Regions from separate parts of the Homo sapiens genome. Here region 2 is linked to region 1. The links are contacts of gene promoters, found by promoter capture Hi-C in human tissues and cell types (Jung and others, 2019). All regions are on one chromosome and are shown on one strand. The core of a region is centred on a gene start or on the middle of the fragment in contact, and the rest is flanking DNA. Distances in the headings are between cores, read along the strand shown. Region 1 holds the start of ARL1 (ARF like GTPase 1). Region 2 overlaps LINC00485 (long intergenic non-protein coding RNA 485).

Evidence for each region. The method cuts DNA at HindIII sites, captures the fragments that hold promoters and counts their contacts. A contact is called where the count stands out against the background at its distance.
Region 2: a fragment that was not itself captured here is called in contact with the fragment with the promoter of ARL1 in region 1 in 1 of the 25 tissues and cell types used here (lymphoblastoid cells).

What each region holds. Positions count from the first base shown.
Region 1 is chr12:101,404,908-101,410,531 of GRCh38, forward strand. It overlaps ARL1 (ARF like GTPase 1), which reads right to left and starts at 2,865. Exons shown (of 6, transcript NM_001177.6): 1 at 2,735-2,865; 2 at 937-1,074. The coding sequence starts at 2,738. RefSeq lists enhancers at 2,348-2,397, 2,478-2,527. The HindIII fragment of the contact is 11,101 bases long and covers 1,981-5,624 here.
Region 2 is chr12:102,816,378-102,821,943 of GRCh38, forward strand. LINC00485 (long intergenic non-protein coding RNA 485) reads right to left here. Exons shown (of 5, transcript NR_033855.1): 3 at 4,721-4,840. Among named protein-coding and RNA genes, the nearest start is that of LINC00485, 5.2 kb to the right of the region's middle. The HindIII fragment of the contact is 6,778 bases long and covers 784-5,566 here.

The sequences.
Region 1 (5,624 bases), core at 1,615-4,114:
GTTGCCCAGGCTGGAGTGCAATGGTGCAATCTTGGCCTGCCACAACCTCTGCCTCCCAGGTTCAAGCGATTCTCCTGCCTCAGCCTTCCGAGTAGTTGGGATTACAGGCATGCACCACCACGCCTGGCTAATTTTGTATTTTTAGTAGAGATGGGGTTTCTCCATGTTGGTTGGGCTGGTCTCCAACTCCCGACCTCAGGTGATCCACCCGCCTTGGCCTCCCAAAGTGCTGCCATTACAGGCGTGAGCTCCTGTGCCCGGCCTTCTCTTGATATTTTTAAGGTACCAAATTACTTCAACACTCAGTCTCTGCAACTCAGATCTTTAAAAGTAATCAATATAATTACCTAAGATAAACTAATCTTAATTAAAATAGTAACAAATACAGGAAAAAAAGGCACTTCACATGTAACATCACTTAACATTTATATAATTCTTTACACAGATTTAAAAGGTACTTTTACCTACTTTGTTTATTTCCCCCTGAAAACCAGTGGGTATTTGTTATCTTATGTATTTTATTAGTAAAGATACTGGCTCTCAGTAAGATTTAGTAACTTAAACCTATAAACAGCCCAACCCGGCCGTAAACCAGAACAAGGGTCCTTAAATTACACTAAGCTGCCTCTTAGTTGATGGAAAAAGTGTTATCAATGTTATGTTCATACTAGCAGTTTACAAACTTTATCAAATACTTTATTATATGAATTAATTTATTCAGAAATAGGCCTGGCATAGTGGCTCATGCCTGTAATCCCAGCACTTTGGGAGGCCAAGGCAGGAGGATCACTTGAGGCCAAGAGTCTAAGACCAGCTTGGACAACATAGTGATGATACCTGATCTCTACTAAAACAAACAAAAAAGAAAGAAAGAAATAGTTATGTTGGATGGAGACCAGAAAGTCCCTACAATTAGCTCATCATACCAACACTTACTAGGTATAGTAGTAACAACTTCTCCCACTTGTAATCTGTACAAAATTGTGGTTTTTCCTGCTCCATCTAATCCCAAAATTAAAATTCTCATTTCCCGAGTTCCAAACAGACTGGAAAATATACTTGAGAAAAAGCCACCTAAAAAATAATAAAAGAAAAAACATACACAATGTCATTTTGTGAACTAGGTATACAAAACATCTAACCTTGTCCTTTGAGAGCTAAATACCAAATTAAATATTATAATTTCCTGGATGCGTAGGTGCATATTTTTCCTCCCAATGAAATATATTATTCAATATCAAACAAGTAATTAGTTATGTTACTATGTCCTTAGTTATGTTACTATTGTGTCATGCAGGCACAGAAGATAAACCAAATAATAAGAGAAATATGGCCGCGGCCTTTGGGAATCTCATTTTCTAATCAGCAGAATAGGAATATTTTAGCATGATCCCCTCACTACCCCTAAAAACCAAGGGGCCAGTAAGGAGGATAGTGGGACAATGTAATCCTCGCACAGGAAAAGTACTGTACAGCAGCAGTACCACTATAACCAACTTCAATCAGAGTTCTCCACGAAGCAATATAGCTAGTACAAGAAATTGAGAAAAAAGCTGAAAACAATAACTATTTTTGACAAAAAACCCACTTTTAAAAATAATAAAGCTCTATCCAATGCATCACAAAATATTCCCAGAAAGCTTCCTGTACACCAAGTATTGTGTAGGATAAAAAGCACAGTCCTTTTCCCATCCAGAGCCATTAGAGAAGATTAAAAACAAGTTACATTAATACAAAAAAAAATAGTTAACATCAGAAGTGATGCCACACTGTTATTTGGCAAAGACATGGCATAACTAAGAGCTGCGAGTTGAAAAATGAACAACACCATGGGCTAGAGAACCTTGGGAAAGTTCAACAGAATAGGTGTGACTTGACAAAGTCCTTTCTACCATTTACAGGTAGAAGAGAGGCGGAACAAAACTGAAGGCGGTTATGGAAGACAGGACAGCGCCTGTGATGCTTGGGAGCAAGAAGTATGCTCCCCAGAAAACTGTGGAGGGATTTAACCAAGCCAAAGAATCTGCACCTTCATTTGGAGGGTGAGAAACGAGTTAAAGAATGTGCACCCTCACTTGGGTTCTAGCGGGGCGAGGGTGTTACCTGATGCTTGTGAGAATGCAGTTCCCTCAATCAGCGGGCCAAGAACCAAGAATAAAGTTTCATTTGCCGACTAGAAATACCCGTATTATTACATGAAACGCTACAGCAGATTAGCAGACAAATGCCAAACTGGCCATAAAACAACATAAGCAACACCTGCTCTCAGGTTTTTCAAACTGACGCCGTCCCAGCGCCCCTGGTAAAGAGAATGATTAAGCTTCCACTCTGGGGCCGCAGCTCATCTTTCACCAAGAAACCTCGGCGAACCTGCGACTGACGCGTTGCCAGCCTCCGCAAGAACAACTCTGCCCAGCAAGTGGAGCTGGGGATGAGGGAAAACTTCATGATAAGGGTAAAGAACTCGAACCCAGGCTCTGCGGACGTCCCCAAGCTGTCCGGGTCCCTGGACCCCGCAGGAATCAAGGGGAACCGAGAGAGGACGGAGGAGAACGCGAGAGGCCGGATCCACCCCTACAGATGAAGATCCAAAGTGAGTCAAGTCCTCCGCGACCCGCCCCCTGAGGAGCTGGCTACTCTAGGGTATCCTGGCCGGCCCCTCTCCTCCTCTGCACCCCAGCCCTCGGCCGCGGCTCCCTCGAGCGCGCCCAGGTGCCCTTCTCGAACCCCTCACCCATGATGAACCCCCTGTCCTCCCTCGCCGATCTTCAGTGATTCCTTGGCCTTCGGCTGCAGCTCCGAGGCGGTTTCCTCGCAAGCCCAGTCAGCCAGCAACTTCCACGTCGGACTCCAGGCGGGGGCGGGAGCGAGGGTCAGCTGCGACTGCGCGCCGGGAACGGTGGCCTGAGCATCCGCGTCGTCGCTTTCGACTCACGGTCCCCGCTCACTGGATGTAGATACCGTGGAGGCCAGAAGAGACGAATAATTCAAAAACCTGAAGTCTCTCCTGCTTGTGTTTTTCTGGACAGAAAGAGCTTCTGAAATAGAGAAATTGGAATTTTTGTTTTAAATTCTGACACCAAAAAGTGGCGAATCTGACAACTGAAAATGCGAGTCGGGCCTCGATGAGTCGTCCCGGTCGAACGCTGGCGCAGGCTGCGGCGTTGCAGAGGACGCGTGTCCCGGAGCGCCCTGCGGGGCCAGCCCAACTCTCCCTAGGTGCTTTCTCCCAGAAAGAAACAAGACTACGTAATAATAATAGGAATGGTACCGCGCTGCCAATGCGGAGCAGCCTTGCACCTGAGGCCAGTAACCAGAGGTTTTTGTCTTCGCTGTGGCCTGCAGGACGAGGACCTCGCCGGCTTTTTTTCTCGCTGACCGAGCAGCTGAGACCGCCTTTCAGGGGTCGGCAGTGTGGACTGGCTGGTCCCGATCGTGGGGACCAGGGACTTATTCCCTCGAGGGTCGACTGTTGGAAGTAATGTAGGTTTTGATAGTGAAGTGTGTGGAGAGGAAGAAGGAAGCACACCTATAGGATGTGGAGAAGGGATTTCCCCTAGAGAAATTTTTAAAGGTTGAGCATGTATGTTTTGAAACTTCCCAAAGATCCATTGAAAAGTGAACCTTCCGGCCGGGCGCGGTGGCTCACGCCTGTAATCCCAGCACTTTGGGAGGCCGAGGCGGGCGGATCACGAGGTCAGGAGATCGAGACCATCGTGGCTAACACGGTGAAACCCCGTCTCTACTAAAAATACAGAAAATTCACCAGGCGTGGTGGCGGGCGCCTGTAGTCCCAGCTACTCAGGAGGCTGAGGCAGGAGAATCACTTGAACTCAGGAGGCAGAAGTTGCAGTGAGTCGAGATCGTGCCACTGCACTCCAGCCTGGGCGACAGAGCGACACTCCGTCTCAAAAAAAAAAAGAGAAAAGTAAACCTTCCATCCCTAATACCCTGTATCTCGGTGATCCCCAGTAGTCACTACTGTTAATACTCTCTTAGGTTTTCTTCCAAATCTTATTAATACCTTTGCATATTATGTTTTTATTTATGGTAGAGATTTTCATCCATTCAACAGAAGCTTATGGACTGCCTTTTTAGTTTATTTTAAAAGAATTTTTCTAGCTTTAAATAAAAATTGTATATATTTACAGTGTACCATGTGATGTTTTCATAGTTGTATATGTTGTGAAATGATAACATACCCATCACCTCACATAGTCGTGTGTGCTTGTGTGTATATGTTTATTTTGTGCTAAGAATATTTAAGGTCGGCCAGGTGTCGTGGCTCAGGCCTGTAATCCCAGCTCTTTGGGAGGCCGAGGCGGGCAGATCCCTTGAGCCCAGGAGTTGGAGTCCAGCCTAGGCAACATAGTGAGACCCCATCTCTACAAAAAAATAAAAAAATTAGCCAGGCACAGTGGCACTTGTAGTCCCAGCTACTTGAGAGGCTGAGATGGGAGGATCACTTGAGCCTGGGAGGCAGAGGTTGCAGTGAGCCAAGATCCCGCCATTATTCTGCTCTCATTCTATGAGTTCCACTTTTTTTGACTCTACATATAAGTGGGATCATGAAGTATTTGTGTTTCTGTGCCTAGCTTATTTCCCTTAGCATAAATTCACCCATGTTGTCACAAATGACAGGATTTTCTTCTTTTTAAAGGCTGCATAGTATTCATTATATATATAAATATACATACATATACCACATTTTTACATTTCACGTTTTCTTTATCCATCAGTTCACTCTTAGGTGATTCCATACTTTGGCTATTATGAATAATGCTGCAATGAGCATGGTGATGCAGATATCTCTTTGACATACTGATTTCATTTTCTTTGGATATATACCCAGAATATATGGTATATACGTATATATTGTATATATGGTACATATGCATATATGATATATATGGTATATACTATATGGTTTATACTGTAGTTCTATTTTTAATTTTTTGAGGAGCCTCCATACTGCCTTCCATAGTGGCTATACCAATTTACATGCTCACCAACCATGCCTATCTTGGTTTTGATTTGTTTGCAGACTCCACTAGTTGTCTAGGTTCTGAACTAGTTTTTGCCTCTTGCTCTCATCCTTGCCCCCAAAACCACAGGTTCACGGAAATTTTCCTGCAAGGAAAAGTTTTGTTTTGTTTATTTTTATTTTTGTTAATGGTTTGAGAAGGGGAGAAGGGCTCTACCTAAACACCTGAACCTTTCTAAGGCTATCCTTTGTAAGCACTGTGTGGTCTAATTATTGGACCTCTGTGCTTATGATTCTATAATACCTCCTCTTAAACAAGATTAGTTTGCTGCTGCTTGAAAGATCTTGGCCATTACTACTTCAAACTTAGGTCAATGTCAGATTTATATTTGAGTATGATGTGTGTAATTCTTGAAAATACAGATTCCCTTTAAAAGAGAACTGAGGCGGGGCACGGTGACTCATGCCTGTAATCCCAGCCCTCTGGGAGGCCGAGGTGGGTGGATCACCTGAGGTCAGGAGTTCAAGACCAGCTCGGCCAACATGGTGAAACCCTGTCTCTACTAAAAATGCAAAAATTAGCCGGGTGTGGTGGCAGGTGCCTGTAATGCCAGCTGCTCGGGAGGCTGAGGCAGGAGAA
Region 2 (5,566 bases), core at 2,923-5,422, 1.4 Mb after region 1:
TTTGCTGCTGAAAGCACCATAGCTAATGTGATTTATTAGCATTTCTTTTAGTTGTGTAGCAGCCATGGGGTTTAAAGCATTTCCCATGCATTGTTCATTTTCACTTTTTCAAAAGCCATGTTAATGATTATAATAATATTAATAGTTAAGGTAATAAGTAGTAATTATATCTATGTGCTAGGCACTATTCAAAGCACTTTATAAGTGTTAATTTGGTTAATCATCACAACTCTATTCAATAGGTACTACTATCATTATTATTATGGTTATTAGATGACAGAAAACACTGAGATATCAAAAACATGTATCAGGTCACCCAGCTGGTAAGTAGCAAAGCTGAAATTTGAGCTCAGGCAGTCCAATCCCAGAGTCTGTATTCTTTATATGAATGTATCCTACCACTCATATTTCAAATGAGGAAACTGAGGCTCAGAGAGCCAATGAACTAGTTAGGAGAAGAATCAGGAAAACTAATGTTGAGCAAAATCTACTGCTATTTCCACTATGCCACATTTTCCTTCCAGTGAGCTTCCTATCAAGGCCTTTTTAATAATTTGTGGAGCAGTTAATGCAAATGAGAGCTCTCCACCCTTCCAAGTTGTCCTTGTGGAACTGGGGCAACATGTGAGGAGAGACTCCATCTAGGGGCCACTAAGTATAGTGCAGTCTAAAGATTACGCACGTGATATTCAAATCTTATACACTCTCTAAAAGAATTTTGCAAATATGTATACCCCTCAGATTTTTTTAAGTCACTGCCTAAAAATTTATCCTATGTCATAAAAATGTAATCGCTGGTGTATTAAAATATTCACATTTAAAATAAAACGGTTAGCTAATTCTTCTATTGGTATCCATTGAAATCTGATTCCATTGCAGCTTGATACTCACAATAATCCAGCCGAAAGCTGTGGTATGCACTTTGCTAATAGTTAGAAATTTTCTGTTTGTCCTCTTTTCTTGAAACCATATTTTCATTTCATATTGCTCACAAAATTTTGTTGCAATGCAATATATTTTATTCCTAAAAGCATTTTATTGATCTTCACAAAAAAAATGAGTATAAATTAAGCCTCTTTAAAACTTTTTTTCCATGACTCTAAGATCCTGAGGGTTAAAACATGTTTTGGATTGAGTGATATTTACAAATATTATTAATACACAATTTATAAATAATTGCTAACCACAAAAGTGCACTATAATTGGAAATGCATTTGTTAATTAAAATGATGGAAAATTTTTTAACCCTCTTAGTTTATGCAAAATTTATTTGTTACTAAAATGAAACAGGAACCAGTATTGATTATTTTTGTTTGGGTTTTTCCCCATTTTTTATGGTTGTAGGTGCTGAGAAACTATATAGTAATGCCACTCAATTCTTTGAGCACCTTCAGGTTATTTGGCAAAAGTATATCATGATCTATTACCAAAGATGATTTTGATGAGCAATCAGATGTTTATTTTCTTCACAGTCTTTATCAGACAAAATAATCATATCCTTCATTTGTTTCTTTTAGTCTCCCCTCCTGCCTCCCTCTGTCAGGATACAGATATTATAAAAGCAGAAATCTTGTCTGTATGCTTTGGAATAGTGTCTGTCACATCATAGGTGCTTAACAAGTATTTGTTGAACAAATGCCTGAGGCAACCCACGTTCAAAGGAAAGGCAAGTACAGCGATTCTGTTAGGACAGGGGATAAGGGAAGATTGGATGTGTAGGTGATTGTGGTCTTCATGATCTCCACTGTTAAAGCTTCCTTCTTCACCATGAGTAGTAGCCTCTCTGAAGCGCTGTTGTTCCAGCAGAACAGGGATTCTCCCCCCATCCCCACATGTGCAGTGAGGTCAGCTAATTTTCCTGTATCTCTGGCCTCAGGTACCTTAGCAGGCTCCCCTCTATCCTCTCCTCAGTAGGTTCTCTTACTAGATCCCCCAGTAGGCTGAATGGCCATCTGTGGTGTCCTTGGGTGATTTTGACGTGTCTGGTGTTTCCATGAAACTTTGTTTATTCCCCAGCTCTGTGCAACTTGGGCAAACGCTTCTAGAAAGACCCAATAATACTTAACAATACCACACTTAACATGTCCATGCCATTGGAAGGTCTACAAATTACAATTTTATATCGAATTTTTATAATTATCATGGATTTGTGAGGTGAACACCCTAAATTTAAAGGTGAGAAAACTGAGGCCCAGGAAGGTAAAAATCAGACGCCCAATACTACATCATCCTCAGATGGCTGAGTATGAGTTTGAATGCCTCAACTAGAAATAGTATAGATTTAAATTTAAGCCCAGCTTTGTTCAGCAACTTACCAGGGAGACTACAAAAAAAGTAACTTAATGTCTCTGAATTTTAGTAGACTCAGTAAAATGCAACCATTAAAACCATTTAATGTCAGAAGGAAATTAATATATTTATAGCGTTAACACTCCCCAGTACATTATTTTTCCTGCCATGAAGCAGTATTATTATTACCCCCATCTAAAGATGAGAAAACTGAGGCATAACATAGCAGAACAGCATAGTCCTCAAGAGTCTGGGCTTTGGGCCAAGTGTGGTGGCTCACGCCTGTAATCCCAGCACTTGGGGAGGCAAAGGTAGGAGGATTGCTTGAGGTCAGGAGTTCAAGACCAGCCTGGCCAACATAGTGAAATCCTGTCTTTACTAAAAATACAAAAAAAAAAAAAAAATTAGCTGGGTGTGGTGGCATGCATCTGTAATCTCAGCTACTCAGGAGGCTGAGGCAGGAGCATTACTTGAACCCAGGAGGCGGAGGTTGCAGTGAGCTGAGATCGTGCCATTGCACTGTGCCAGCCTGGGTGACAGAGAAAGACTCCGCTAAAAAAAAAAAAAAAAAAAAAAAAAAAAAAAAAAAAAGAAGAAGAATGTAGGCTTTGGAGTCAAGTTGCTTGAGCCAGGTCCTGGCTCTATCATTAACTAGCTAAGTAACTTTGGGCTAGTTACTTAATACCTGCCTGGCACAAGGTAAAAGTTAATATAATATATGTCAACCACTGTTGGGCAACTTTTCCAAGACCACAAACAAACCATGATAGTGCCGAGGTTCAAAGCTAATTAGCCAATTTGGTTTCAGAGATTCTGATGTGTACCATAACGCTGTTATCTTTGGAGCCAGAAAGTCAGGAGATAGGAAGATAAATATGAGAAAGAAAGAAGAGCTGGAGGTTTGAGACTGATAAAAAGTACAGGAAAAGAGAGAAGAGCAATTTGTGGCGCATCAGGGCATTTTACTGTATGGCAAGAAATGGAATTTCCCATAAGTTGCCCTTTCCAAAGATTCCACTAAAGAATTATATTGCTTGACAATGTTTTTTGTTGTTGTTTTTTTGTTTTTGTCATGATGACATTTCTTTAGAAAGAAGTACTATTTCTAAAATAGGACATAAGGTAGCCCAGCTTTATTTGGGTTAAAAGTTCTAAAAGAATTTCAGTAGTTCACTCTGGATAGAGCCTCCAATGTGGGGTCTTGGAAAGAAGGGGCAGAAATTCCTAGGGCAAGCACCACTGTGTGTTTCCTAGGCAGTGATATGGTCTACATGCTGTGGATCCTTATTCTATCCTAGGAACTGACCAACCAACTGATCAAGATATCAACCCGCTAAGGGTGGCCAGACAGAAGCATGCTGCCCCCATGTCTGTTTCTATCTATCCTCACCTCAGTGCCCATACTAATTAGAACTCCTTTTCTCTCCAGGAAACTTTATCCAAGAAGCCCCACTTCCCCTTCCAAAGCAGTTTGGTTCCTGGAAATATTCTTGGCCTGGAAAAGAGAAATGGTTTCCTATTTTCAGCTGGTGTTAGGTATTATTTGTGGCCACCTGCTAGATCTCAATAAACAGATTCTGCATGAAATTATAGCCTTTTTGTGTTCCAAAAACTAACTCTCCTCTTAGCCTGTAGTACGTACAATAACAAACCCAATATCAACAATCATATCTATCATGCAGTAAGCAATCACCACGTTTGCTTGTTGAAATGAATCCTGTGTTTTTGAGAAGGTCACCTCACCTGACCTCAGCTGGGGAATTTCTGTGCTGCAGAATGTCTGTGGTCTCTTTTCAGCTTTGAGATGTATAAATCTGGTATGTACCATGAGGTCCCTTATGGTTCCTCAGTAAGATTCTATTGCTGTTTATTATTATTATCAATAGGAATAACAAGGGTTAACATTTCCTGGACACTAACTATATGCCTTTGTATTAAGTACTTACTATATATAGTATATATAATCCTTACCAAAAAGAATGTGAAGTATGTATTATTTTCATTATCCCCAATTCATAAACAGGGAGACCAAAGTTGATGTAGGTTAAATAAATTCCCCAAGGTTACCCAGCTAGGAGTGGAGGAGGCAAGATATAAACCCAGCCCAGACTATTCACTCCAGACTACTCACTCTACTGTGTGGAATTACTCTCTCCAAGTTACACATGAACAAGAGAGTTCAATTTACCTTTGTCTATATATTTGGGGCTAGAGTTTTTATAGTACAACATATTGATTGGCCTAAATTTCTAGCCATATTCTTAGGAAAGATAGGGATCTGCCTGTCAGCTTCTTGCGTGATAGTGGCAATGATGGCATTTATTTTCAGTGCAGATAAAAAGCCTGCCTAGAATCTTCTTTTTGGAAGGTTGAAGAGTATAACCAATAAGTTGTGAGGTGGAATTAAGATAAACAAGTGCATTTTACTTACAGGGTGAAAGTGGTCCATACCAGATTCATGATTGGTTACCAGGTGATTGCAGTTGTCAAGATCTTGTGTTTTTCCTCGGAAACAAGGAAACTGTAAGAAGGAGAAATGAAGATATCCGAGCTAAGAGAGAAAAAAAGAGACATTAGCATTAATCATTTATAGGATAAGGGCTAATAGATGAGACTCTTGGGGAAAAAACAACGCAGAAGCTTGGGTGAGAAACACACACCATCATCATCATCATCATCATCATCATCGTCTTCATCATTGTCGTCATTATCATCATATGCACATATGTCCTAGTTTGGGTCTTTTAGAAGCAGACTCTGAGAAAAGGATCCTGGTGGAAATAGTATAGTTGGAAACTAAAAATAGAAAAATGGGAAACAGAGACAGGTAAAGAAAGGCAATAATTACATGGAGTGTTATCAGGCAGGCAGCTATTATTGTGGGCAACTGAGCTTACTGCCTCTGATAAAACTTTGAGAGTCAGTGAGGAAGAAAGCCTCTACCAGCTCTTACTGGTCATTGGTAGAGGAATAATGTGATGCAAAGGTATTAATTCCTAGGAACTTTTGGTCTACCATAAAGGCAAAGTGCCTTAGAATCTGAATAAAACTTTTAAAAAGAGAAACTTAGGAGCTGGCAGTTGGCAGCCAGCCATTCTGCACTGAAAAGGAAAGGGCAGAAGGGTGGGGGGAGGGTCACTGAGAGCATCTGAAGCAATTTTGCTTTTAGAGGGTAAGAGACAGATGGTAGCTAACATGTACTGAATGCTTAGAATTCGTTTAATTTTCACAGTCTGCATAGAAAGTGTGTATTATTGTTGGCATTTTGTAGTTAACA